2 separate regions of the Homo sapiens genome follow, and region 2 is linked to region 1. The links are contacts of gene promoters, found by promoter capture Hi-C in human tissues and cell types (Jung and others, 2019). All regions are on one chromosome and are shown on one strand. Each heading gives the region's core, a stretch centred on a gene start or on the middle of the fragment in contact. The rest is flanking DNA. Distances are from core to core; before and after follow the strand shown.

What was found. Contacts are between HindIII fragments. The study calls those that stand out against the background at their distance.
Region 2: a contact is called between a fragment that was not itself captured here and the fragment with the promoter of CNTNAP4 in region 1, in 2 of the 25 tissues and cell types used here (dorsolateral prefrontal cortex and hippocampus).

The regions. Positions count from the first base shown.
Region 1 is chr16:76,275,771-76,282,233 of GRCh38, forward strand. CNTNAP4 (contactin associated protein family member 4) reads left to right here and starts at 1,631. Exons shown (of 24, transcript NM_033401.5): 1 at 1,631-1,977. The coding sequence starts at 1,893. The HindIII fragment of the contact is 9,673 bases long and covers 1-3,664 here.
Region 2 is chr16:76,385,055-76,391,644 of GRCh38, forward strand. The region is part of intron 3 of CNTNAP4 (contactin associated protein family member 4); the gene reads left to right. Among named protein-coding and RNA genes, the nearest start is that of CNTNAP4, 110 kb to the left of the region's middle. The HindIII fragment of the contact is 5,146 bases long and covers 257-5,402 here.

The sequences.
Region 1 (6,463 bases), core at 381-2,880:
GGATTACAGTTGCCTGCGACCACACCCTGCTATTTTTTTTATTTTTAGTAGAGATGGGATCTCACCATGTTGGCCAGGCTGGTCTCGAACTCCTGACCTCAAGTGATTTGCCCACCTTGGCCTCCCAAAGTGTTTGCTGTGTTTTCCTAGGGCCTAAGGTTTTTGCTGCCACTGACAAGGGTCAGGAAGGAGGTATACTCTGATTTAGGGGCAATAAGTCCTAGGGTGAGAGCAGTAAAACTGGAGTCAGAAAAGCCAAATCCAGTCCTCAGCATTTATTACTAACTCTATGACCTCTTCGAATCATTTAAATTCTCTGTTCTTGTTTTCTCTTGTAAAACAGGAAAAGAAAAAAGATGCATTCTGCTTTGTTTGCAGGCATGAGCTAAACAAGCATGTTTAGTTCTTACGGGTATTTCTGTCATTTTCTCACTCTTTGACAAACCTATCTGATCTTTGACAAACCCACTCTCATTATTCCATAAGAAAGTGGTGTTAAAGGCTTATGTTTCTTCCAATTTGTGATTACCAAGAGGCACTTAAGAACTCCAGGATTTCCATTTGTATAAAATCTAGCACATTATCAGTAAAACATCTTGACATTTATTTTAAATAGATTATTTATCTGCTATGAACCATGTGACATGCTTCTTGTTATGTGATAGTAACTCCATTATTTAGACATTTTAAAATTCCATTCAAGAAACAGTTGTATCCATGGACCAGCCATTCAAAGAGTAATTTTTCTTTAATCATTGATCTTCCAAATTCAACTTTACTCCTCTCTCCTTTAAGTCACCTGAATTACATCGTCACATTGTTCAGTGTTTGTGTGAATGTGTATGCATGTGTGTATGTGGTGGTGGTGGAGGTCCCTTTCTTCAGTATTCCCTCATTTCCTACTTTGGGCCTTTTTGGAAATGTTATTAAAAATTTTGATTATAGAATGGTACTTCATATTCACAGCATGATGCATTCATCAACATAAATCTAGCCAAAGCATTTCATTTGTGGATTTATACACCTGAAGCATTAAAATAAGAAATGTTAATTTCTTGCAGACTACTACCAGATGATTTTAAATATCTGCTAAGCAGGAATGTCTGTTCCCATGTGGGGAATTTCCATAATAAAATCCTGGCACCCTCGCTGAAGAGTACAGTTTTATAGAAACAGAGAAAAACAACAGCAAGTATTTTCCCTGAGGACGGTTTTAGCTACAATTTCCCAATGCTGCTTAGTTATTTCTGTCTTATTTTATGCTTTTGTTTTGAAACATAATGCAATTTTACCTGGATGCACTCCCGGATAATCAGGAATGGCTCAGTGTGTTTTCTGGCTCTTGCAAATGCAAGACCTCCAGAAAATCAGAAGGCTCCACCGCCTTGTCCCTTCCCCCACTCACACCTCCAGCTGGGAGAAAAGGGTTAAGGATTATTGGAAAATAGAAGAGAAGGGAGGGAGCCCCAAGGAGGCCCACGAACGGGAGGCCGCGCCTCTGGGTGCAGCGGAGCTCGAGCGCTGTTGTGTGTTTGGAAGGAAGGATGCTGCTGCCAATTTGTGGGACCGCTGCTGCGAGGAGTGGGCGTGGCCTCGGCGGTGTGGATGCTTGTTAGGAAAGATGCTGAGTGCTTTTCAGTGAGGAGTCAGGGAGGTGTGTGTGAGAGAGAGAGAGAAAAGAGAGAGACAGAGACGGGGAGAGAGAGAGGGAGAGAGAAGAGAGGGAGGAGGGAAGAAGAAAAGACGGAGGGAGGTGAGGAGGAAGGGAGGGGGAGAGACAGAGACCTAGAGGGGCTGAAGACCCAGACAGAGCTGGCAGAGCTACTGAGAAGAGGACTGGAGCGCTCTGAGAGCCTCTCAAGATCTTTTGGGGGAGCCCAATAAATGTGAACATGGGATCTGTCACGGGAGCTGTCCTCAAGACGCTACTTCTGTTATCTACTCAAAATTGGAACAGAGTCGAAGCTGGGAATTCCTGTAAGTATACAGCAAATGATTTAAAACTTGCTGGGGGGCTCTCTGCAAAACTTTGATTCTGTTGGTTTGATGATGATTATTTGCAGCTGGGATTGCTGCAAAGCGTATTGCTGTAAACCAAGCATCACTTAAAAATCTTGCCAATGTGACCGGTTAACACTTGTCTCTCCTCTTGGTCTGGTCAAAATAGGCAAAGTGTCATTTCTCTTTTTGTCTACTCGCAGAATCTTACCCTCTGGTCTTTGAGTATTCATTGAGAATGCCCAAGTTCTAGTAAAACATGAAATTAGCATCTTATCGGGGGAATAGCCTGTGAATATCTTCATTTCTTCTTTTTTAAAGAACTACTGAATTTTATTGGAATTATGTCTAAGAGGAAAACAACTGGCAGACTTTACATTATGCTGCATTGGCTTAGATTTCTGAAGTTTGCAATTGGGCAGACCAGTAGCTGCCTGCATCTTTAAAATAATGCAGGCTAATAACTGAAATGTACTGCAGGCTTCAGGAGCACCAGCACTGGCTGAGGCGAGTCTCAGTATTAAGAGCTGTGCCCTCGCTGCTAAGAGAATGAGACTTAGCGCTCTCCGGAAAGAGGAGCCTCTTCCTACATTTCGCTTAAAGGAAAACCAGTCAGGTGGTCTTTCAAAAGTAGGATTCCTTTGTGGTTGAATGCTTAACTGCATAAATTTGTAATTGAATGTTCTGATGAAATAGAACCTATTTAGGGAAGATTGAAATCTTATTTATAATTTAGATATCATCCATAATAATTTGGCAGACTCCCTTCATCCACTCTTTATTAGAGATAGAAAAAGTTTTAAAAGTTATCTTTGGCTTAAATTCTCTAAATGGGAGAATTTTCCCCTCCTGATTAATGACAAACAAGCTTGGCAAATACAACTTTTTATTTTTTCTTGGATTTTAAAGGAAAAGCTCATTTGCTTTCCAAGAACTGGCTATGAGGCCTGTCCAGGAATTTATGTTGCTGCTGTATCATCAGGCTTAGATTTGGGGAACAGAGGCAGTAATCAGACATTTGCTATGGCATATCACTTGACTATGTTAAGAGTTCTGATATGTGAAAAACATGACAAACTCATGGGCACAAGTCAAATGTCCCCTCACAGTACCTGGCTCCCGTGATTTCGTGTTTCAGTTCAGAATGGGCTCATTTAATGTCACAGGGTATCCATCACTCTGAAAGAAGGAACCTCACTTCAGGTGCTGCACATCAGATTCAACTTTAGTTTGAGTGTTGTGATAATCTCATAAGTCAATAAAATGTATAATTTCACCTAGTCAAAACCTTGGAATCTTATAATGGTAGCATTAGAAAAACATTGCATCATACAAGCAAACAATAACAACAACACCCACACACAAATGGAAGTTCTGTAGAAAAGGCATAAGTAATTCATCTTCCAACCACTAAAGTTCAACCAAAAAGAAAAGCACTAGAGGTCACTCTTACAATGTAAAGCACATCACCCCAAGCATCCTTCCCTCAAGAAAAGCAGAGCTTAAATCTGGCCTGTACTCCATTCAGTCTTTCCACTAGACTGCCTGTAGTTGGGTTTAAAATACATTAATCTAATTATTTGGGCTGCTAGTTGTTTATGTTTGCTTGTTTTCTTGAAGCTCAATAAAAAGTGTAGGGTGTACATCAACATTAAATAGCTTTCTTTTGCCATATATCTTCTTAGAAAAGAAAAGGTGCTGAAAGAGATCTGAGGAGAGTGTAATATTTATGTCTGCTTGGCTCTGGTTGGATCCCTCACTGACACTTAAAATTTCAGTGCTGGTTCTATATTCTTTCAGCCTTGGTTTGTTAAGGAAGTAGTCTAATGCTCTTTTAAACATCTGATGAACTTGCAAAACCTATACGATTTTTCATTATAAAAAACATTTAAAGTTGGAGTTCTTGCTTACCATGCATGTGGAGTTGACTGTTCTTCAAGTGTCAAAAATAAAATGAAATGACCTTATATAATTAAAGTTGCACTCAGTAATTTATTGTGAATATTTTGACAATATGATTTGCAGCAGTATGTGTAAAAGAAAATATTTCATTTCTCAATTTCTATTTCATTTTTCAATATTTAAGAAGTATTTTCTTTTTGGAAGAAGTAAGGTCTACTTGTACCAAGCCATGGTGGAAAGTACTTCATATGTTTCATCCTTTTTGGAAGGACAAGTGTATATATATTTCCCAGCAAGACTGGAATTTAGTGTAAGGACAAGCAACTATCAACCAGCATATGCATTTCTAAAGTATTATAATGACTCCAATAATTCTTCTGGACAAGACTTTATATTAAGAAAAAGTGAGTCAGTCTTGACTACCAATAGTAATATTGGAAATAACTGAATATAAATAAATAAAATTAAAGGACTAGAAAGACTTTTCCCCTTTATTTACAGCTGATGAGCCAGGAGCAAATCTGTCATCTACAGAGTCAGCCCAAGGTTGCCAGTTTGAAAGCTTTCATGGGACAGAACTCTGCAAAACCAGTACAGCTCAGGGATTAGGTGCACTTTAATTTGAATGTTAATTGATCCAATTAAACAGCAGGGAAACTTTACATTAGAAGGATTCTGTTCAAAGACAAACATATATGTTCACATATATGTATATGTGCTCATTTGTATATAGGTATATGTGTATGTAGATATCTAAACTACTAGACTCGTGCTCATTTGTATATACGTATATGTGTATGTAGATATCTGTAAACTACTAGACTCATGTGCTTGCATATTTTTGGTGGCCCTGTTAAGTACTTATCTGTCTAAAGATGAAATATGTTGAATGAACCACGCTCCCTGCCTACTAGTATCCTGTCTGACATTTCAAAAGCAGTGGACTAGCCATAATTTTTTTCTCTTTGTTCTCATCAAGATGAGCTTTTACAATTATATTGAAGTGTCCCTTCCATCAAAGTTTAGAGACGGATCCTTGCAGATGGGTGTGCTCTTTGAGAAGCTGCACTGGCTGTTCTTGGTTTCTTTGCTTGCTACTAAGAGACATGCATTAAGAACAGAGACATTTCTCTATTTTTTAATAGCTCTTATAAATCCAGTTTTTGAACATTAAGACATGGTTGAAGATGGGGTCAACTTACCCCAAAAGAAGGAATGGGTACAGTAGTAAGGCTGATAAGAGTTTGCTTTTATTTTAACTCTTGCAGATTATGTGAGGGAGGCTCTCTAGTTACTGGTATACTGAGCCGTACTCTTGAGAATAATTAATGCTCCCCAATGACTTAATTAGAAGTTAACATCTCACTGTGTTCTTTCTTTTCTCTGATGGAAATAAAGGCCGTATCTGATACCTACCCTAAAAGAAGCACTGAAGGATAGATGAAGGCAAATTGCCTAAGTAGATGATCACTCTTGTGGGTCCTGGGAGACAGCTGGACAGATTCTCACATTGTTAAAACTCAACCTTGTAATTCTTTCTAGAAGCTACTTTCTTTTCCTCCCCCCACCATATTTACTCCTATAGCAGAAAATAACTAGAATGCAATAGTAAAGTACTGATAAAATATAATTCTATGAGGCAATGCATAAATGGCTAGCCCCTATAAAGATCAGCACGTACTTTGACTCACTTTTCTAATAGCAATGGTGATTTATTTTCATCTATTCAGTCCATTTTCTCCACTTCTTATTACATGCATCTCAATAATCTCTGATAAAGGCAGCCTCTAGCTCTGGAGATAACGTGACTCATGGGCCAACATGGGGATCAAACATAACTTTCACATAATACCTGGTGCTTACTCTAGGAAATAAAGATTATTGTCTTGTAAAATTAATTTTGGAATTTATATCATATGTAAGCAATTTCTGTATTGGAGCTAATGAGTATATCAAGATTAAATTGACTTTTGTTAAAGAAAATAGATTAATAGAATTATATAACATCTATCATAAGATAATAAAATATTTAACTCAGGTTGGTAAACTGTGGCCCATGGGCTGAATCTGACCTGCTAGTAGTGACTGTTTTTGTATGACCCATGGGCTAAGAATAGTTCTTCCATTTTTAGCTGAAAAAAATTAAAAGAAGAATTCTTCATGGTAAAAAATAATTATATGAAATTCAAATTTTATTCTTCCACTTATTAGTAAACCTGCATGACAAAAATTTCTACTCAAATATTAGTATTATATTTTGAATTTTATCAATTAAATTTTATTAAGATTGTTTACCCTCTTACTATGTAACTACTTACATAAGATTCTTTACTCTCTGGCACTTTATATAAAAAGTTAATTGACCCCTATTTAAATAATATACAATAAAATGATAAGACATGAAAAGTGTATAAATTATACTTCTATGATAAAATTTAGTCTTAATTATTTAGCACACAAATATATACTTGCAGAGTTGTGGTACTGAACGCAATGCTATTATTGCCAGGAACTGTAACAGAGGATATCTTCAAGTTAATGTTTCCTTGTATGTTTTTTCTTA
Region 2 (6,590 bases), core at 1,580-4,079, 110 kb after region 1:
GACAGGTGCAACTTATAAAGTATGAAACAGTTTACATGACAGGAGCATAATTATAAATATTTAAAGATCCTTTTTTTAAACAATATAACGCATTTTGTTGATTTGCCTTGATGCTTACTCCAGATTTTTCCCAGATTTATTTAGAGCAGCAAGAGCTATGTGATAAGTACAGCTGATTCTCACTTTCCCTGACAGTTATGTTTTATAAAGTTTCCATGGACAATGAATTATCAAATACTGAACCATTGCTATGCTATGTCATCTCACAGGGACTGCCTTAGGAGGGACTAGAGATTGTTTTTAAGATAGGATAAAAATACCTTGTTTTTTTATTTTAGCAATTTTGATTATAAATTCAAACCTGAAAAATACAGAGAAAATATAAAAATAGAAACAACTGTAATTTTTCTTCATGCAAAAATTATTTATATATAGCAATGTTTCCTTTCAGTCTTTTCTCATATTTATACAAAAATTAACACTTTAATTAGAAGTGTGTGTGTGTGTGTGTGTGTGTGTGTGTAGAGAGAGTGAGTTGATTCTCATTATGCGTGGAAATTATGTTCTATAAAGTTCCTGTGAACACTGAATTAGAGAGTAGTGGGTAAATACACAATTAGAGTCCCGTGAGCCTCTGACTGCAATATTTTTGTCCACCCATCAATACGTAACCTTGTTTTACGTATGTTTCTGTTTAAAGACACCTTATATAGTCTGTAGTGCTGATTTATTAATATTGAGCTCATGGCCAACAGCACTATAACTCATGACTGAATGAAGCTTCCCTAACACATATTTTCTCCGTAAGGTGCATGGCAGCTTTCTTGTACTTAGGAACATAAGGCAGTATTTCAGCTCTACGTTTGGGGCCCATTTTAAACAGGGAAATCACCAAAAAATGCACAAAAATGTGAAAAATGAATAGATAATGAAAAAAAACACTTGTTTACAGTATTGTAGCTGAAACAGGAAGGCAGAGTGCCACCTTGTTTGAACTCAGTTGGAAGCAGGTACGTTGGGCAGCCCAGAGTCTTCACTGCTGTGGGCACATTCACAAATGACCACTGAAGCACATAAAGCTTTGATTTGGGGTTAAAAATAAATCTTAGCTAGTAGGCAAATTCACAATACAGTATCTATGAATAATGAGAAAGAACTGTAATTTACTATTTGCCTAAAAAATACCATATGGGTATAGTATAGCTCTATTATATTCTTGCCACGTCTTTTATAATCTGTTTATAAAAACTAGCCTCGGGCAAAATAGTAAAATGAGCAATTTTTTAAAATTGGAAACTGCCCTTTGCCTTCTCAGTGGTACACATTTTTTAAAAAAATTTGATTTGCTTGCTCTCAGTTTGGGGTTAATAAGACCAAAATTTAAAATGCAAGCTTCCAAAGATAAGAATCATGCATTTTGTTGAATTGCCTTTATGCTTACTCCAGACTTTCCCAGATTTATTTAGAGCAGTGAGAGCTGTGTGATAAGTACAGCTGATTACTGTCTTATTTACGTTAATTTTCCAGAGCCTAACCTGGTGCTAGAAACATAGTAGGTACTCAGGAGATACTTAGGCACAATAAGTGAATTCATGTCATCAGTAATATATATCCCACCATGGTGAGTAGAATGGCCTTCCAAAGATGTTCACTACCTTAACGTTGGGACCTATAGGTATGATATCTCTATAAAAAAGGCATATTGGGATTGTAGATGGATTTTAGGTTGTTAATCAGATGATCATAGTAAGATTACCCTGGATTACACAGGTGGGCCCAGTGTAATCACCAAGGGCCTTAAAAGTCAAAGGAGGCCTAAAAGGAGATTCAGAGGGAGAGGAGGCTGTGGAAGGAGAATAGAGTTATGCAATCTGTGAATGACTCAACTTGCTTTTGTTGGCTTTGAAGATAGAGGAAGGGAGCCATAAGCCAAGGAATTTGTGCAACCTCTGCAAGCTGGAAAGGACAAGGAAATGAATTGTCTCATAAAGCCTCCAAAAAAAGCATGCATCCTGCTGACATCTTGATTTCAGCCCAGTGAAACCTGTGTCAGATTTTTGGACCACAGAACTGTAAGATAATAAGTTTGTGTTGTTTTTACCCACAAATTTTTGGCAATTTGGTACACTCCATGCCTGAGAAAATTGATACACCTACCACATGACATTTATAGTCCGATAAGTGATATCACAAATTTGAAAATCCATTAGGACACACAGCAATGAATATTTATATGTTAATGTCAAACATTATGGTGAGGACTGGAACTGATATTTTGAGAGAAGCTCATTCTCAGTTCTCAAATCTCATTATATAATTTGGCAGCTATTCATAAAACTGATTGACTGATTTTGTAAATCTTTTGCAACCAATAGTCTCTCTTGCTTTAGGGCTAAAATAATTGATTTTCTCTCATTATTTTGTCATTTTTGAGTGCAAGATAAATTAGTGCTTTATATATTTTAAATCATGTACTAAGTAATAGCTTGGTATTTATAAAATGTTTATAATCAGGCTTTGTGATAAAATATGGTAAGATCAATATTACAGTACTCCAAAAAAGCAATTGCCCTCTGAAACTTCAGAATTAATGCTCATGAAATAATCAGCAAAGAAGAAATGAAAATTAATGTTGTTTTAAAAACCATTGAACATGGACAAAATATTAATTGCATATTGTCAGTCAACATGATTTAATAGTGGTTTAAATAAGGGTGGTTATGTTGTCATAAGAAATAAGATGATATAGAATACTTATTTTACTTCCTAGTATATAGGCTGTGCTCAATAAATGTAAAGTGATTGCCGTTATTTTTGAGGATGCCATTGTTATTATAATGCAAACACAGAAGGGATCTATTCCCCTCTTTTGTTTTCTAGACTGGTTGAAAATATTTTATTTTTTAAAAAGTATTAATGTCTGCTGAAACCCAATACTATGTAAATATTTGTCATTAACGGGTGCTTGCCAGTCTATTTTGCCCCATACTCAAGGGTTTTGTATTTTACCATCAGTCACTGACTTGAGAGAATACATGAAAATCACCCTTAAGTGTGGGTGGGTTGTGATTACTTTACAAGTTCCTACTTTGTGGATTTAGCCAGATCAGCATCTTGTGGTGTCAGAGACATTACTGGGACATTTACCCAAAGAGTTCATTACAGCACTGCTGTTCATTTCATCCATCCTCAGAAAGGCAGCAGCATCGTGGAGTGCCAGGAATTCACTCTCAGAGGAAGTCAGTGTTTTTCAAACATTGGTACCATAATCAAAATGAAAAACAAACAAATAAAAAACAACTTTTCTCCACACAGCAAAATACCATTCTTTCTTACTTGAGGCAGTAATGAAGTGGTTTTGAAACCTTTGAAAATGAGCATTGTGTAGAATATTGAGTAAATGGATTTGAAACAAATGAAGGAAACATTGATATGGATTTCTAGTGTTTTCTTTAATGTATCAGTCAATTCACACAAGGTAAAATGCACACAAAGTAAACAAACAAAACTTAAGCTATCTAAAAGTCATCTCCTGTAATACTGTGATTTGTAATAATATTTTATGCATAATGTCTGATATATAATAGTAATTCCTGTTATAAACACATATACATCTATTGATTTATTGCCTGTCTATGCTAGGAAATGTTCTAGACATTTTAGATGCATCTAGATATTTCTTATGTAAATCTAAATGATGGAAATGTTATTTATTGATATTTTACATACAAGGAAATGGGAATCAGAGACTTTTGTAGGTCATATAATTAAGGCAGTACCTGACTCCAAAGTACAAGTCTGTCCCAACATGCTCTGCTTCCATTGTAGAATTGTTCTTTGTGTGCTTTAAATTATAATATTTAACAAGGAGTTCTATGTCCTTATAGTAATTCTAGAGAAAAGGAAAGTAATTCTTTAAAAAAGGAGAAAAACTTACATGTACATTTATAATTAATGTTATATATGACTAAGCCAAAACCTTATGTCATTATAATATAAAGAACACTGTCTAGTATATAATAGAGTATAAGTATGTGTAAATATATTGTCACTGTAGGAAATAAGGAAAATGAATATTGCTATATGTTAGAGAAACTCAAATGTTAGGAAATTAGTCCCCAGCATGATGAGCAGAACAAGCTTTCTGTATGTGTGCTCAGGCAATGCAAATGGTTCCATTTGTCTCATATAGATGTTAAGTACGTGTCCTGACTCATACACAGGCATGTATACACGTATCAACTAAGGCATCTTAGTCTGTTTTGTATCTGCCTCTGAAACTAATGTCAAATCAATGTCATGGAATTCTTTCTGACAGCATTTCTGGCAACGTTGCTTGTGGCTCTTCTTCCACTCAGCGCTTTGACAGTGCTGTTTAGTTTTTTTTGTTTTTGCGTTTTTTGTTTTGTTTTTGTTTGAGACAGTATCTCCCTCTTTTGCCTAGGCTGGAGTGCAGTGACGTGATCTCAGCTCACTGCAACATCCTCATCCCGAGTTCAAGCAATTCTCATGCCTCGGCACCTGGAGTAGCAGGGATTACAGGAATGTGCCACCAAGCCCAACTATTTTTTTTTCTTTTTTCTTTTTAGTAGAAACAGGGTTTCGCCATGTTGTCCAGGCTGGTCTTGAACTCCCGGTGCTGAATTCCTCATCTGCCTGACTCAGCCTCCCAAAGTGCTGGGATTACGGGCGTGAGCCACCACATCCAGCCAACAGTGGTGTTTATGGGAACCCGATCTCAGAATAGTGGCCTATTCTGTCCTCAGATATTCTAATTCTTCTTTCTAATATGCTACCAAAACCCACATGTTTTAGTTTGGGTTCCTCTAGAAGCAGAACCTGAGACAAGAATTTGAGTGCAAGTTATTTATTTGGAAGGCAATTTCAAGAAATAACAGTAGGAGGGGAGGGAAGTGAGACAGAGAAGGGAAAGTAGTTAATAAGGTTTGCAATTTGAGCAACTGGAGCTTAGCCCCACTGGGGAATTCTAGGAGCCAGTATACTTCGCCATGTCTCAATGTATCCATCAGAGGAGCAAGGGAGCTGGGGTATTTATCCATCATCTCCAGGCAGTCACTGGATGAGGACTTAGCCTTCCTCCCTGGGAGATGGACAAAGCCGTCAGGTAAACTTGTGCACTACTGGATGCTGGACTTCAGCAAGATGTTTCTGAAAATGGCAAAACCTTCAGGTATATGGTGAAGAGTGGGCATCTCTTACTACAGTAACTTATCTATTGTAACTAATTGTAACTTATCTATTGTAGCTAATCTGGTGAAGTCTTCAGTTCTTTTCTTTATCCTTGCCTTAGAGGCCTGTGTGAGCTGGGCTATACATAGAAGATTGGGGTCTGGACTATATCCTTTTGCCAGGACACTTGTCTCCTCCTAAAAACCCCACATGTAATTGTTTCCTCTGAGAAAAGCTGGTGTTTCTTGTCTCATCAGGCGTTCACAGCCAGGGAATCTGTTCATGAACTGCAACTTAATGCTATCTCTTCTGGCCCCATAAATAACAGGTAAAAAAAAAAAAAGCCCTGCTTGTTTTAAGCAGGCATTATTCCTTCTCATCATTGCATTACTGATTCAAATTGAAAGCCTGGAATGTGGCTTCACAGGTAGCTTACTCACCAAGGTTGTCCCTGCCCTTATTATTATGAAACAATTCTAGGATTTTTATTTCATCCTTAGTCCTCTTTGGCTCTCTTAGCTAACTTGAATCTTTCAAGCACTTCTGGGTTTGCACTATAGGACTTTACCCTCCTCAAGTCTTGAATTTCTTTTAATTCTCATTAACTGTTTTTTTTCTTTTTTAAAAAATTTTTTGTGGGTACATAATTGGTGTATATATTTATGGGGTACATGAGATGTTTTGATATGGGCATGCAATGGGAAATAAGCACATCATAGAGAATGGGGTATCCATTCACTCAAGCACTTATCCTTTGAGTCACAGACCAGCCAATTACAATCTTTAAGTTACTTTAATATATACAGTTATTATTGACTATAGTCACCCTATTGTGCTATCAAATAGTAGGTCGTATTCTTTCTAACTATGGTTTTGTACACATTAACTATCCCTACCTAGCCCCCCACTACCCTTCCCAATCTTTTATCTATTGATGTTGACAGCAAATCACACTGACTGCTGGCCAAAGTGTAAAGATTTCTCCCGCTCCTTTGCATATGATGAGGAGCCAAATGTGGTAAACACTTCCTCCATATGAACTCAAATGTTCGCATTTGACGTTTCACATCTCTTATTATTTTCTGGGGGAAAAGTCAACCCACCTCCAATGTTCTTTCCCACCAGCCACAGTCTTTCTAATTTGTAACTGACTTGTAGAAATTGCTAACGTTTCTTTTTTTGGAATGTTCCAAAGCATGCTAACATTTATTTATCTAAAATATCCTGTTATGCAAAACTTTGTGCTTGGCCTAGTAAATAAAGATCTGGCTGGCATTTTATGCTCAACCAGGTTGTCTTGTATGCTATTCAACATCTAATCAACTCACGTGCAGTATCAGACTCACTTAAGAGCTTGTGTAAAGTGCAGACTCCAAGATCCCACTTCGGATCTACCCAAT